2 separate regions of the Homo sapiens genome follow, and region 2 is linked to region 1. Evidence: promoter capture Hi-C in 16 types of primary human blood cells and fetal thymus (Javierre and others, 2016). All regions are on one chromosome and are shown on one strand. The core of a region is centred on a gene start or on the middle of the fragment in contact, and the rest is flanking DNA. Distances in the headings are between cores, read along the strand shown.

Region 1 (6,842 bases), core at 2,431-4,930:
CTGAGGCACATTTGATTCTCTGACGAACTCTGGAAACTTGGCAGGGCAGGTTTTATTAGCTCTATCTTACAGATGGAAGAGCCACTAGCAGCAAGGTTAAATGACTTGTCCAGTGACACAGAGTTAAGGAAGAGAACTGGGACCTGAACTCAGCTTCTGGAATCCAAATGCAGGAAGCTTTCTACCACCTCACACAAACAAAAGGCTCATTTACCATAGTTCCTCTGGTAGAAATAGAAAGCACTAGTAGTACACAATGCCAATTATCTAAAGAGATGCCTCCACATTCTTAAAAAGAAAAAGATGAGACTGTCGTGGTACTCACAGTGGAAAAATACACTGCAAAGATTTCCAATGAAAAATCTTCCCCCAACTACAGGATGACAACGGGACCTAACTCAGTAACTCCTACTGGGTCTCCTGATACACTCTCACTTTCAAGGCAGATAAACTAGAAGAAGGCCTCTCTTGCTCTATTATTGTTTGTAGCAACAAAATTTGGCCTCAAGAAATTTCTAAGTCCAAATGGTAAAGGGAATATAGCACTGCAAGAACGGAGGACACTGCTGCCAGCGTCGCCTGGAACCAAAAGCTCGTGCCAACAAGGAAATGCAGAGAAATGTCGAGAAAAGCAAGCTACTGGATTCCAAAAGTTTATTAAGACATAGCTAGAATAATGTATTTTCTTAAAAACAAAAGAGTTCCATATCGTTCAAGTCAATAACAGCTTTTCTTTAGTGTCTACTACATGCAAGACACTTTTCTAAGCACTTAGCATAGATTATTCACTCAGTCCCTCCAGCAACCCTTTGAGAAAGGTACTATTATTATTCTCATTTGACAGATAAGGAAACTAAAGCACAGAGTTAAGTACCTTGCCTAAAGTCACACAGATAATATTAGGTCCAGGATTCAAATTGGGGCAGGCTGCCCAATCCAGAGTCAAAATCTTCTAGGCAAATGACGGTCCCTATCCCCCACATCTGCCAAAAAGGAAATAAAGAACTAGAAAACTAGAAAATAATGAAAGCAGAACTTCAAAGAGGTCGAAAACAGGAAAGGAAAATTACTAAAGAATAATGAAAACAATCTATTATTCTGTTACAAAATCGAATAAACTTTAGAAATGAGAAACTCCAGCCTTTGAAATCCTCTGGTTACCCCTTTAAAATGTCACCTATTAATCGTTGAGAGTCTCCACTTTTCTCTTTATTTTGGAGCCCTCAATAAGAGCAAGAACCATGTGTTTTCAGTGGTTTCTAAGTAACTACATTTTGTTAATCTGCCTCTCATTTTGGAACAAAAAATATTAAAGTATTTTTTGTAACTTTAATTATTTTTCAGACCTGTAAAAGTTTAAAATTTTGCTTTGAAGCCATTGAACATACAGAATATGAGAGAACTTAGAAGGTATTAAACAGATGAACTTTTACAGTCAACTCTCATTAATGCCATTTTATTAGCGAGCACTCTTGTTCCTAAGAATGAGTGCTTCTTTTCTCTTGAGCTATTTCAAAATGAACTAGTTTCTTTACAAACCACACAAGGACTGATGATCATTTCAGATAAGAGGTTCACAGTACAAACCATTGCACAGGAAGAGAAACCCTTGTGCAAGGTAGCCTGAGAGTCCAGCAGACACCGGCATGAAATCAACAACCAATATTGACCTCAGCAGAGCTTTCTGTAGCTACAGTCAGCTATCTAACTATGAAAACAGCAAAGGATTTGAAAAATACCTCTCTAGGTATTTGAAATCACTTACTGTTTGCATGTCGGGGTGGGGGGAAATGTGAGTAAAAATGAGGCTGGGATGAGCTTACCATCTAAAAGACACTCATTGGAGAAATGATGACTCCAAAAAATCTCTTTGATTCAGAGATTTACTTTTGGATTTATTTCCTTTACTGGAGCAGCAGCTGGCAATCTAAAACTAGAAATTCAAAGTAATGCCCAAGTCATTCTCAATCATGCCAGCCTGTTTCACTGTCATTGTAAGGTTTCAGAGCTCTATTTTTTCTCATAGCGCTCATCTCTGCCAGAAAATATATCATTGTTTATTTTTTTATTGTGTGCCTCCCCACATATAAACTCTATAAGGCAGGGACCTCAGCAGTGGGGCTCTTTGCTGTCTTCCCAGTGCCCACCGTTGGCATTCTTGTGTTTGATGAATGAATGAAACCATCGACAACTTAATAAATGTAGTTAGAACTTTAAGTTAAAGAGACCAATCATTTACTAACTACACTAGAATCTACAAGCCCCCCGTGAATGTTATCCACCCTCAAGCACCCGGGAGGGTACTATACACTGGTGCTGCAGGCAGCACCACTGGTTCAAATCTCCCCCATGGTGTGGAATCTCTGAAAAGTAGATTTGATTTTGTGAAGCAGCCAAAAGCCATTCAGAATCAAATCTGGTGAATACATGATCGTGCCCAATATATATGTTGGATGAAGGCAAACGTGTCTGCAAAGTAACAGGCCTGATTGTCTTATTTGGTTGGTAAACCGATTTTGAAGGAAATTCAAAATGGTTTGCAGTCTAGCAAAATTGCTGGCTCAGTCTCAAGACTCTAAGGTGCTTATTTCACAAGGAATAATACTGAGCTGTGGTAAAAAGAATCCAGACTAGACAGACACCAAGATACCCCCAAAGAGCTGGCTTGTGATATTAGCTTTGCCATTAAGTTGCCCTGAAGCCCGGGACATATTAGTTACCCTCTCTGGGCCTCAGTTCCCCCATCCAGGAAACAAATGAACAATGTAAACTTCAGGATGCCAGTCAATTCTAAAATGCTATAATTTTATTCTTGTGAAGATCTGGTGTATCTGTTTCAAAACCAGTCGCAACCCACTTCGCCTCAAACGATGCGTGCGTCTATAAAGCTCTAATATAATTTTTGCAGCAGATTCACTTCTTACTTGCTTAGGCAAATACTAAAATTAGTTTTCACTTCCTGAGCGCAGCAAAAGACAGTTAAGGGAGGCAACCCGGCCACGGGCGCTTGCTCGTGCCTGTACATACTTCCGACTGCGTATCAGGGAACTAACCGTTCCCTCTAAGATCTTCCCTCAACTGTTGCAAAAGCAGATAAACCTCTCGTGTATGACACAGAAACACTGGCCGAGAGCGGCCATCGAGGCTTCGCGGCCAGTGCCGGGCTGCGGCCGCTCCGCAGGGCCCACCGGGGATGCGACGGACGCCCGCTCCGTGCGGAGGGCCAAGGCGAGGACCAGCCGCGGAGCGTCGCCGGGGAGGCAGGGCGGACGCCCGGCCCACTCACCGCCCCGGGACGGGGAAGCAAAGTCCAGGCAGTGGCTGAGACGTCCGCCCCCAGCTCCACGGCCAGCCAACCCCTACCCCCGTCCCGACCTTCGCCCGCCGCCGGCCGGCCACCTTGGGCGGGGAGAACGGGAGGAAGCCGGAGGTACCTGCCTGCTGCTCCCTGGCCTCAGCCCTGCCCCGCGGGGACAGCGACGGCGCTTGGACGAAACCCCCACCCAACCCTGACGGTGCGGCAAGGCCCCGCGCGACCCGCTGGCCCAAGGAGTCCCAACTTCCTCCTCCCGATCCCCTCACCACGGGTCCCCGCAGTGCCCGGCTCCGAGCCAGGCCAGCCGTGAGCGCGCACCCACCTCGGGCTCCGGGCGCCACCGCCGTTGCCAGGCTGCTCGGCTGCCGGGCCCTGCTCCGCCCCCTCTGGGGTCCGCCCCCCACGGCCTGCCCGCCCCCGGCCACCGCCCGCTGCCCGCCTCCCCGTGCCGGTTGGCGGGACTGCATCACGTGACGGGGCAGGGGGCAGGAAGAGTGCGCCGGGTCGACCTGGGGAGCAGCTCCGAAGGGCGGGGCTCTTCGCCCGAGAGGCTGCTGGGAAGCCCATTTTGAAGGGTCCGACGCATGGAGGCAGCTGGGAATTGTAGTTCGCAATATGGTGCTGGGGATGGGCGGGGCCAAGATGCCAGGGGCCATCCCTGTAAGGGAAGTTGGACTGGGCGCCGGGCGGAGGCGGCTGGGAAGCGTAGTCCCGGGACCCTTGTCTGGGTCTCCCCATTTTTCTTCAGTAAAGGGGAAATCCAGAGGGAAAACTTCTCTATACAAGACTTTAGCGGATGCCACTAAATTGAGCTATTATTGGGTACACAGGGTTGGCTGCGTAAAGTTGAGATAGTATAAGGGAAAAAGAAATTTCACTGACTCTGGGGCAGGATCTGCAATTCACAAACTCAACTAACAGCTGGGGTGTCCCTCAGCTGTGCCAGCACCTTTCCAAGAACGCAATTGAGACTTAGTGAACGGAAACATTTCAGTCCAAAATTCCTTCTACTTGTTGAGGTTTGGGTCAGACAACTATTGATACAGTAAAAAGAAAGGGACAGGAAAAAGAGAAGAAAGGCAAACTTCAAGAAGAGAATTCATTGTGTAATCAAATAAAACAAACAATCTGGGCCGGGCGCGGTGGCTCACGCCTGTAATCCTAGCACTTTGGGAGGCCAACGCAGGCGGATCACCTGAGGTCAGGAGTTCGAGACCAGCCTGGACGACATGGTGAAACCTCGTCTCTACTAAAAATACAAAAATTATCCAGGCGTGGTGGCAGGTGTCTGTAATACCAGCTGCTCGGGAAGCTGAGGCAAGAGAATCGCTTGAACCCGGGAGGGAGAGGTTGCAGTGAGCTGAGATGGCACCACTGCACTCCAGCCTGTGTGACAAAGCGAGACTGCGTGTCAAAAAAATTAAAAAAAGAAAAGACAACCTGGCACATAGAAAAATGAGCATAATATTCTTTGTACTGCATAATACTTATACGCGAGCAGTTCGAGTAAATAGGATGACTTTATCATGACCTGTTTTTTTTCTCTTGTATGTGTTAGTTCTCCAGCATCTAAAAACAGCATTTTACCTGATACCAGTGTATATGTGTACGTGTGTTTCTACATAGTCACACACATATACACATATATTCATATATCATTTATATATGCATATATATATGCTTTATTGAAGAGTCTAGACTTCTTAGAAGAGTAACAAAGCCATCCAGAATCCAACCCAACCCACTCTTTAGCCACTTCTCCCAGTGTGCCTCTTTTTGCTCTTCACCCCAAGCTCTGGCCTAGTTCCAGGGAACTTGATGCACTGGGTTTTTTCTTTCCTCCAGCCCTTTCCACTTGGTCCTCTCTCCTGGATTTGCCAAACTCCTGGAAAGACAGCAGAATAGCAGCTGCTCCTGGGCCCCCGCACAATTAGAAGTCTCCCCCACCCAGCCCTTCTTGTTGTACTGATGTCATCATTTGCTTACACGTCTGCTCTGCCAACTCCCCTCCCCAGACTATGAACTCCTTTGAATCTCATTCACTTTTGTGCTGAATTTCAAAGCACGCTCAGTAAATTTGCATGCTAGAGAGGCTCCCTGGTGGGCTGCTGAATAACTCTGGATTCCTGGTATCTGTGAATCTTAGGGCAGAGGGATAGAGGAAAATGGGGATGGGTGGAGGGAGGGCAGCAGCTGCCTGGGATACCTTGCATATAATAGGCCTGGTTAAGTGTCCCAAGATGAGGCCAAAGCTTTTCGATGGAGCTGGGAGGAGCTGGGGGTTAGGAGGTGGGGAAGGTGCAGAGCAGGGATGGTCTCATCCTAAGGAGGTAATTCCTGAAGATTTTTCCAGGGTCCAGCCCCAGCCCAGCCCCACCTCTAGAAAGATGCAATTCAACCAGAAAGGGCCAGTAGAGAAGATTAGCCTTTGGCCTGTGAAATGGAGAGAGTAACCCCTGCCGTGCCTGTCTCACGGTGTAGGTGCAGAGATCGAATGAGGCAACAGATGAGGAAGCACTTTGAAAACTGTAAAGGTTGTACACTATGGGCTGGGCGCGGTGGCTCAGGCCTGTGATCCCAGCACCTTGGGAGGCCGAGGCGGGCGGATCACTTGAGGTCAGGAGTTCGAAACCAACCTGGCCAACATGGTGAAACCCCGTCTCTACTAAAAATACAAAAAAATTAGCCAGGCGTGGTGGTGGGCGCCTGTAATCCCAGCTAATCGGGAGGCTGAGGCAGGAGAATTACTTGAACCCGGGTGGTGAAGGTTGCAGTGAGCTGAGATTGCACCACTACACTTCAGCCTGGGTGACAGAGTGAGATTCCATCTCAAAACAAACAAACAAACAAGGTTGTACACTATGGAGGGGTTACCGCCTTGCCCTTGGTGACATCGCTGTATTCTTGACTGAGCCTGCCCTCTTCCAGGCTGGGGCTGCACTCACATTTCAGTGTGTGTGTGTGTGTGTGTGTGTGTGTGTGTGTGTGTGTAGGAATCTTCAGGCTTCCCTGCATTTTGCACACATACACCCCCCCATCATGCAGGAGGCCTGTGAGAAGATGGCTGGCCTCCCTCTCCAGGGCTCCAGGACAATAGAGAGGAGGGGGCAATAGATGCGACCTCAGGCTGCTTCTTCCACAACCCTTCTGAGTAGCACAGCCTACACCTGTTTCCGCCCCTCTCCCCCAGAGTCCTCCCGCTTTTGCTAAGGCACAGGCTGGAGGGCTGGAGGCACCTCCTACCTTCAGAGGCTTCATCCTGTTCTCTGCAGTTGGGGGAGGCAGGCTAGGCAGCACCAGGAGGAGCCTGCACTCTGGATTTGGTTGGCTTCATCCCTTACCTCCACCTCTGGCCTCTCACCTCCTAGATAAGAAGCAGGCCCGAGCGAGGAAATGGCCTGTTTCCTGCTACTTCTCCCTTGGCCTCTATGCTCTGATCTCCCCAGTCCCCACTCCTGCCTCAACTTAATCCTACCAGGTTCAATGTATTGGGCCTGAGGCAGGGGAAGGTGGAGGAAAGGGAGGG
Region 2 (6,842 bases), core at 3,041-5,540, 380 kb after region 1:
TCCATCTCCCTTCTTCCTGAAGCAACAGATAGTAGCATGTTTCTGACTTCTTGAGAAGTCTTCTTTCCTCTTGTGCACTGGCGCCTGCACCTCAGTCACTTCTGCCACCCCACCCCCATCCTAACTGAGCCCCACATTGAGGAACCTGGCCACCCACATCAGGAGGTGCCCTCTCTTCTACCAGGCAAATAGAAATTCTTTTGCTCCTCCACCCCCAGCCTTCCCTTCTTCAGATATGTTTCAGTTTATCAGGGCCTTTCAACATGTGAGGCCCAGAGCTGACCAGAGCAGAACAGAGCAGAGAATAGGGGAGCTGTGCCCACTAGACACTGTGCCAAACCTTTGACACCTAGTATCTCATTGACTGTTCCTAACAGCACTTTGAAATAGTTTCTACTACTGTACTCTGAAAATATGACAAAGACAATCTGAGTCTCAGAGGGGTCCAAAGTCGTACAGGTAATAAGTGGTAGCGTCAAAAGTCTAACTCACAATTGGCTCCACAGCCACACCTTACACGTTGAACTGCAGAAGAAAGCAGCACACTCACCCCCTTGTTCTGAATACTTGGCCCCTGTAGATACAGCCTAAGGCCCTGATTGTTTATCTGGCCACCCATCCCGGCACCAACTCACACAGAGAGGTTGACTATTCTCACCCATCTCTGTGTCTTGTCCTATATGTTCTCTGGGCCCTGGTTCACGGTCCCTTGGTCTCCATGGTCTGGGTCCTCTCCTCCAACTAAACCATGCTCAAGCCTGTGTAGGTTCCTTGGAGAAGCACCCTTCCCTCCTTTTTCCTGCTCCACACCCCTGCCAGCCAATGTGATCACTGAGGAGAGAGAAGTTGGAGCACAGCAGGTGGGCAAAGGGCTGGCACACAATGCTGTGAGCTGGCAACTCTAAATTGAGAGCAATTCCTGGAAATCAGGATACAACTGTTGAGGCCAAAGGCATCCTAATTAAATTGGCCTTCAAAATAAACAAGTGCGTCTCTTCAGGCATCAGCTGTGATTCTGCAGAGTTCCAAGATGAGCCCTAAATGAGATAAAGCCTCCAGTCCAGGTTGGGCTGGGCATGTAGGGACAGAATGTGGGGCGATCTATGGGAGCCATTAGCATGATCATGTTTGAATTGCAAGTCATATGACAGAAACTGGGAGGGAAGGATCTGGGCCTCAGGTCCAACCTGTGGCACCACTTCCTGGCTGTGGGCTCTCAGGTACTGCACCCATCCTTCCTGCAGGGCTATGAACCATGTCATCCGCAAAATGGGAGGCAGGGGAGTGGCAAGAGACATTGTACTTTCAATAAAGCTTGGTGGCAGGGGGCTTCTCCCTCTCAAGGGTTCTTCTAGACCTGGGAGCTGAGGTTCCTGGGGTTGGAGTAATTCAGATGTGTAACACTCTTCCCCTACACCTGAAATAAGACCATTTTTAAGAAGCATGCACAAATATTAGTACCAATGGTTCCAATGGTGACATTCCTTGGGGACTCAAAAAAGTCAGAATATGCTCCATGGGCTTTGAGCATTACCAGCCACAGCCACATAGCATTTTTAAGTTTTACATTCTGGGCAATTCAGTGCAATTAGACAAATATGTTCCCCAATGTAATGATGAACAAGGGTGCCCTGTGGGGAAATGGAGAGGATAGGCTTGGTGCCTGTTCTTGATGATCTCACAGATGAGGAAATACTTCCATCTAATGACACCCAGCCTGATAAGTGCTAGAGAAGATGCTCCAAGAGTGGGCTCAGGAAGCTCAGAGTAAAGCATGACCATTTTCCACTTAAAAACCTGAGAAAGCAGGCCGGGCGCAGTGGCTCACGCCTGTAATCCCAGCACTTTGGGAGGCCGAGGCGGGCGGATCACGAGGTCAGGAGATCGAGACCACAGTGAAACCCCGTCTCTACTAAAAATACAAAAAATTAGCTGGGTGCGGTGGCGGGCACCTGGAGTCCCAGCTACTTGGGAGGCTGAGGCAGTAGAATGGCGTGAACCCAGAAGGCAGAGCTTGCAGTGAGCCGAGATCGTGCCACTGCACTCCAGCCTGGGCGACAGAGCGAGACTCCATCTCAAAAAAAAACCAAAAAACAAAAAAACCCTGAGAAAGCTTTCTGGAAAAGGCAGTGGTTGACCTGGGCCTTGGAGGATATGTAATATTTCAATGGCCAGAGTTGGTGATGAAGGCATTCCTGGTAGAGGGGAGAGCAGTGACAAGGGCATGAGAGGACACATTTGGAAAATGGCAAGGAGCCCATTTGGCTGGGTCCCTGTGTCCTGGGCTGACATCATGGGTGAGGGCAGGTCCGATTCTGCAGATGATAGTAAGCCATCAAAGCTCTTAAGTAAGGGAGGTGGCACCATGCATAGCCATGTGCAATGGTTCTCAGAGTAGGATCTGTGGACCCGTGGAGGTCTCCAAGACCCTTTTAGAGGATCCTCAAGGTGAAAACTATTTTCCCAATAATACTGAAATGTTCTTTGATATTCCACTGTCATGCTTTCCATTTGCACTGCTGGTGCAAAAGCAGAGGTAGGTGAAAAGAGCAGGTTCCTGAGCATGAATTGGGACCATGGCACCAACTGTACTAGTTGTCAATTGGATTCTTCACCACCACACACCTGCAGTTTAAAAAATGCCAGCTTCACTTACGAATGTTCTTAGCGAAGCAGTGAAAATTAACTTTATTAAATACTAGCCCTTGAGTCCCCTTATTTTTAAAATTTGGTGAGACACAATGAGAACTATGCTCAAAGCAGTTCTGCTGGAATCAAAGTGTAGTCGTTGACTCAAGGCAAAGCACTACTGCGTGTTTTGAGTTGTGAGCTAAACTGGCCGATTTTTCATAGAACATCATATTTACTTGAAAGAATGACTAACTAATGTTACTCAGACTTGGGTATTTGGCAGACATTTTCTTGTAGATGAACGAAGTGAGCCTGTCACTTCAAGGAAAACAACTGACTATAGTTTTTGCCAATGATAAAATTTGAGCCTTCAGGCAAAAATTTGAATTTTGAAAAGCTTGTATCCACCACTGTAAGCTTGACAGCTTCTCAACAGTTAAAGGCTTTTTCCAACGAGATGGGTCATAATATTAACAAATGTGATCTTGTGATGTTGTGGAATGAAATATGTCAACATATGGAGGCTCTCCATAAGTCAGGGCACCACCATTTTTTAAAGCGACCAATACACAATGTTACCAAACAATAAATAGGTAAAAAATCCATTCAAAAGACAAGAGAGTCCAACGGAACCAAGTAGAGAAGGCTCACTGATAAAGTTTTGCATCCCACATTACACTTAACCTGTAAAAAACAACCATTGGTGGAGTTTTTGTGTCCTATCAAAGACAAATGTCCACAATGATCTGAAAAGTCTATTAAAATATTCCTCCCTTTCTCAACTTCATATTAGTGTGAGGCCAGATTTTCTTCATGTACTTCAACCAAACAACATCTCACAACTGAATAAAGAAGTAGATGTGAGAATCCAGCTGTCTTCTAGCGAGCCAGACATAAAAGAAATTTGCAAAAATGTAACATAATGCCACTCTTTTCAATACAAGTTTTTGTTTAGAAAAATATAGCTATTTTCATAAAAATACTATTTATATTTACATGTAATTAGTTCATTATTTTAATTTCAAAATAAATAAATATTTTAATATTTTTTCTAATATGGTAACATAAATAGATATGACCCACATAAACAAAAGGTCTTTGGAGGCCTCAATAAGTTTTTGTCATTGTTGTTGATTTACCTCATTATATCATTTTTTTTTCTGAAGTAAAATTCACATGACATAAAATTAACTACTTTAAAGTGTATAATCAGTGGCAGTAAGTATATTCTCAATATTGTGCAACCATCGCCTCTGTAGTTCCACATTTCCTTCACCCCAAAAGGAAGCCCCGTACCATTAAGGAGTCACTCCCCTTTCTGCTCTTTCCCCAGTCCCTGGAAACCACTAATCTCATTTCTGTTTCTGTAGATTTACTCTCAATAAGTTTCAAGAGTATAAAGGATCTGAGGAAAAAAGTTTGAGAGCCACTGGCTTAGTGGTTCAAATCCCAGCTCTGTTTTTATTAGCTGTGATTCCTTGCTCAAGTTGCTTAACTTCTAGGAGTCTCATTTTCCTCCCTAAAATGAAGATAATAATAATAGCATATTCAGAGGGCTATTGTGAGGATTAAATGGAATAATCATGTAAAGCTCCTGGCAGATAGTAGATAATAAATGGGAGTTCTTATCACCAAGACTGAATCCAGTCCCCACAAAGAAACACTGATTCCATTTCCATACACTCTGTAGACATGACTGGCAACACCTTAAGAACAAGAGGCAGCTTCTTCACCTCATTGTCACATGCTTACCAGCCATAAGGCTTTGGTGAGTAACTTTACCTCTCTGAGTTTTGTTTTCTTTATCTATAAAATGGGCCTAATTATAATACTAATCCCACAGGGTATTTGTGAGAATCAACACAGGAGTGAATGCTTACAATATTCTTGGCATGCAGGAGGCACTCAATGTCAGGTAGTTGTCTGGGAGGGGTTGCAACAATGATAACGACATAGATGAAAATGCTGACACTGTGTCTCTTGGCACCCTGTGGGCAGCTCAGGGGCTACCACCACAGGTTGGCCCTTCCTTTGGGCTGTTTCTTGTGATGGGCCCACAACCCCCTCTTTCCAGGAGATGGCAAGATCATCACATCACAGTCAGTTCAGTGGCCTAAGAGGCTTCATCTTTACTTAGCTGCTCTCTGTGCAGAGGCTGCTTGGGCTTTAGAAGAGTGAGTAAGTTTACACCAGGCTTTTTGCTAGAGCCCCATCTCAGCTGTAGCCCAAGACAACACTCTAGTTCCCTAGTTATGCACTCAGCTGGATTAAAGGGCACTTTGACTACTGGCTGGTGGAAGTTCCCAAGATACCCTAGAGAGTCCTTAGGGGCTCAAACTTAATCTTTTGGCATATCAAAGGAAAGAAACAAGGTCTGCCGCTGGCATCCATTCTGATGGTGCAGGGCTCCCTGTGGTAAATCTGTCTCCACTGCCATTGGCATGTGGATCCAGGACCTGTCAGGCCTGCAGCTATTGACCTTGAGCCTCTCAGTTGTAGGCTGACCACCATGAAGCTAGAGATGTCACCATTTAGCCACGCTTCACTGCAACATTTAACATCCTGCTGATACGGCTGTGAAATCTGAATTCTTGTCAAAGTGATATTGAGAGTGGTAAGCTGAGGAAGGCTGGCCCTCGCAGCCATGTGTCCAAGGGCAGGTCAGGTGGTAGGGTGGAGAAAAGACAAGACTGGGAATCAAGAGACTTACATTCAACCCTGGGGAGAGCTGGAGACATGAGCTGCCTGGGCCTCAATTTCCCCACTTGAAGAATGGAAGGTTGTACTAGCTCAGGGCTAACTTTAGTTAGCATTAGTCAGGGAGCAACTGCCACTGAATATTCACTTTCCTGGGCCCTTGAGGAGATTCTTTGTGATTTATTTTGCCCTGGAGAAGCTTGTTCTGGTCCTGAGGACCTGGATGAACAGGAACTTCTATCCTGGGTGGGTGATATAACTCATCACATATCACAAAGAAAGCTGGCTGGCTCAAAGCTTCATCCCAATGGGAAAGGATCTGTCTTAAGCTTCTTCTCCCATCCAAACACCCCCACTTACCAAAACTCATCTTGGCAACACTGGCTTAAAAGCCTTCTTGCCTCTGCCCTTTTACAAACTCATACAGCTGGACTTGAGTCCTCCTAGTGTCCCACTAGCAGCCGTTTGGAGGAGGGGATCCAGCTCATCTAAAGGACTTTGGTGGCCCAAGGGTGCCACTTCCCTGTCAGGAGGTTAGCAGCAGTGGGGAGAAATAGAGCAAGCATGAAGGGAATCCATGATGTGCACAGAGGGGGCACTTATGGAGACAGTGGCCAAAAAAAAGATTGGCATATCTGTTGATGGGGGATGGCAGTAGGTGAGCACAGGGTGGGCAAATAGGAATACACCTCAGTCAGGGCTGGGGAAGTTTATTGGGTGGGTTTAGGAATCTCTGGATTTCTGTGTTCCAGACTTCGCCTGGGGATAATATAGACTGGGTCCCTGACATACCATGTGCTCCAAGTGGAATGGGTTCTGAATGACTGAAATGTTTACCCCCCTGGCACTCTATCTGACGATCTGCACTGATGTACTCTGAGGATGCTGAGTCCATGTGCTATCAAAGGCATGGAAGTGGCTGGGAGGGACGAAGGATGAAAACAGGAGCCAGTGTAAAGTGGGAGAGGTTAGGGCTGCTGGGCTTGGGCTGGAGAAGCAGCCCCTTTATATAGTCATTGGAGCCTCGGGGCATGACGCTAGAGAAAGACAGCATGGAGGGCCCACTTGGCCTGTCCAGATGAGGATAGACTTTTACATCCACTTTAGATTGAGTGGAGGAGAGGTCCACAGGGGTGCCTTAGAGTAGAGGTCAACAGACAAGAATCCTCCGTGCTCAAAGTCTGCCTTTATCTTCTCAAGGATGCAAGATAGTGCTGAATATGCCACTCCTCTTTCCCCTGATACCATGTTGACAAAATGTTCATTCAATTCTTTCAAAAAAATCCAAACACAGTAATCTTCCTGAGGAATTCAGAATTTTCTTAATTTCTGTCTGACATCCCTGCCTCTCTGGGGAGGTAGAGGTAGGAAAGAATATAGAAATTGTCCAAGTCTGAAAGTTGGCTCTAAGGAAACTTTATGCTGCAAAGCAGACATGCAAAATCTCTCTTGTAGTTGTCACAATGATATTAAATTACCTACTTTATTCATTTATGAGGCTCAATGCGAGCAGC

The links. The method cuts DNA at HindIII sites, captures the fragments that hold promoters and counts their contacts. A CHiCAGO score of 5 or more calls a contact.
Region 2: a fragment that was not itself captured here is called in contact with the fragment with the promoter of MTM1 in region 1 in 1 of 17 cell types (M1 macrophages); the score reaches 5.8 in M1 macrophages.

Annotation. Positions count from the first base shown.
Region 1 is chrX:150,565,459-150,572,300 of GRCh38, reverse strand. MTM1 (myotubularin 1) reads right to left here and starts at 3,680. Exons shown (of 15, transcript NM_000252.3): 1 at 3,639-3,680. RefSeq lists a silencer at 3,199-3,878 and enhancers at 5,163-6,084, 6,085-6,842. The HindIII fragment of the contact is 5,391 bases long and covers 180-5,570 here.
Region 2 is chrX:150,189,070-150,195,911 of GRCh38, reverse strand. No RefSeq gene overlaps it. Among named protein-coding and RNA genes, the nearest start is that of MIR2114, 36 kb to the left of the region's middle. The HindIII fragment of the contact is 2,479 bases long and covers 3,051-5,529 here.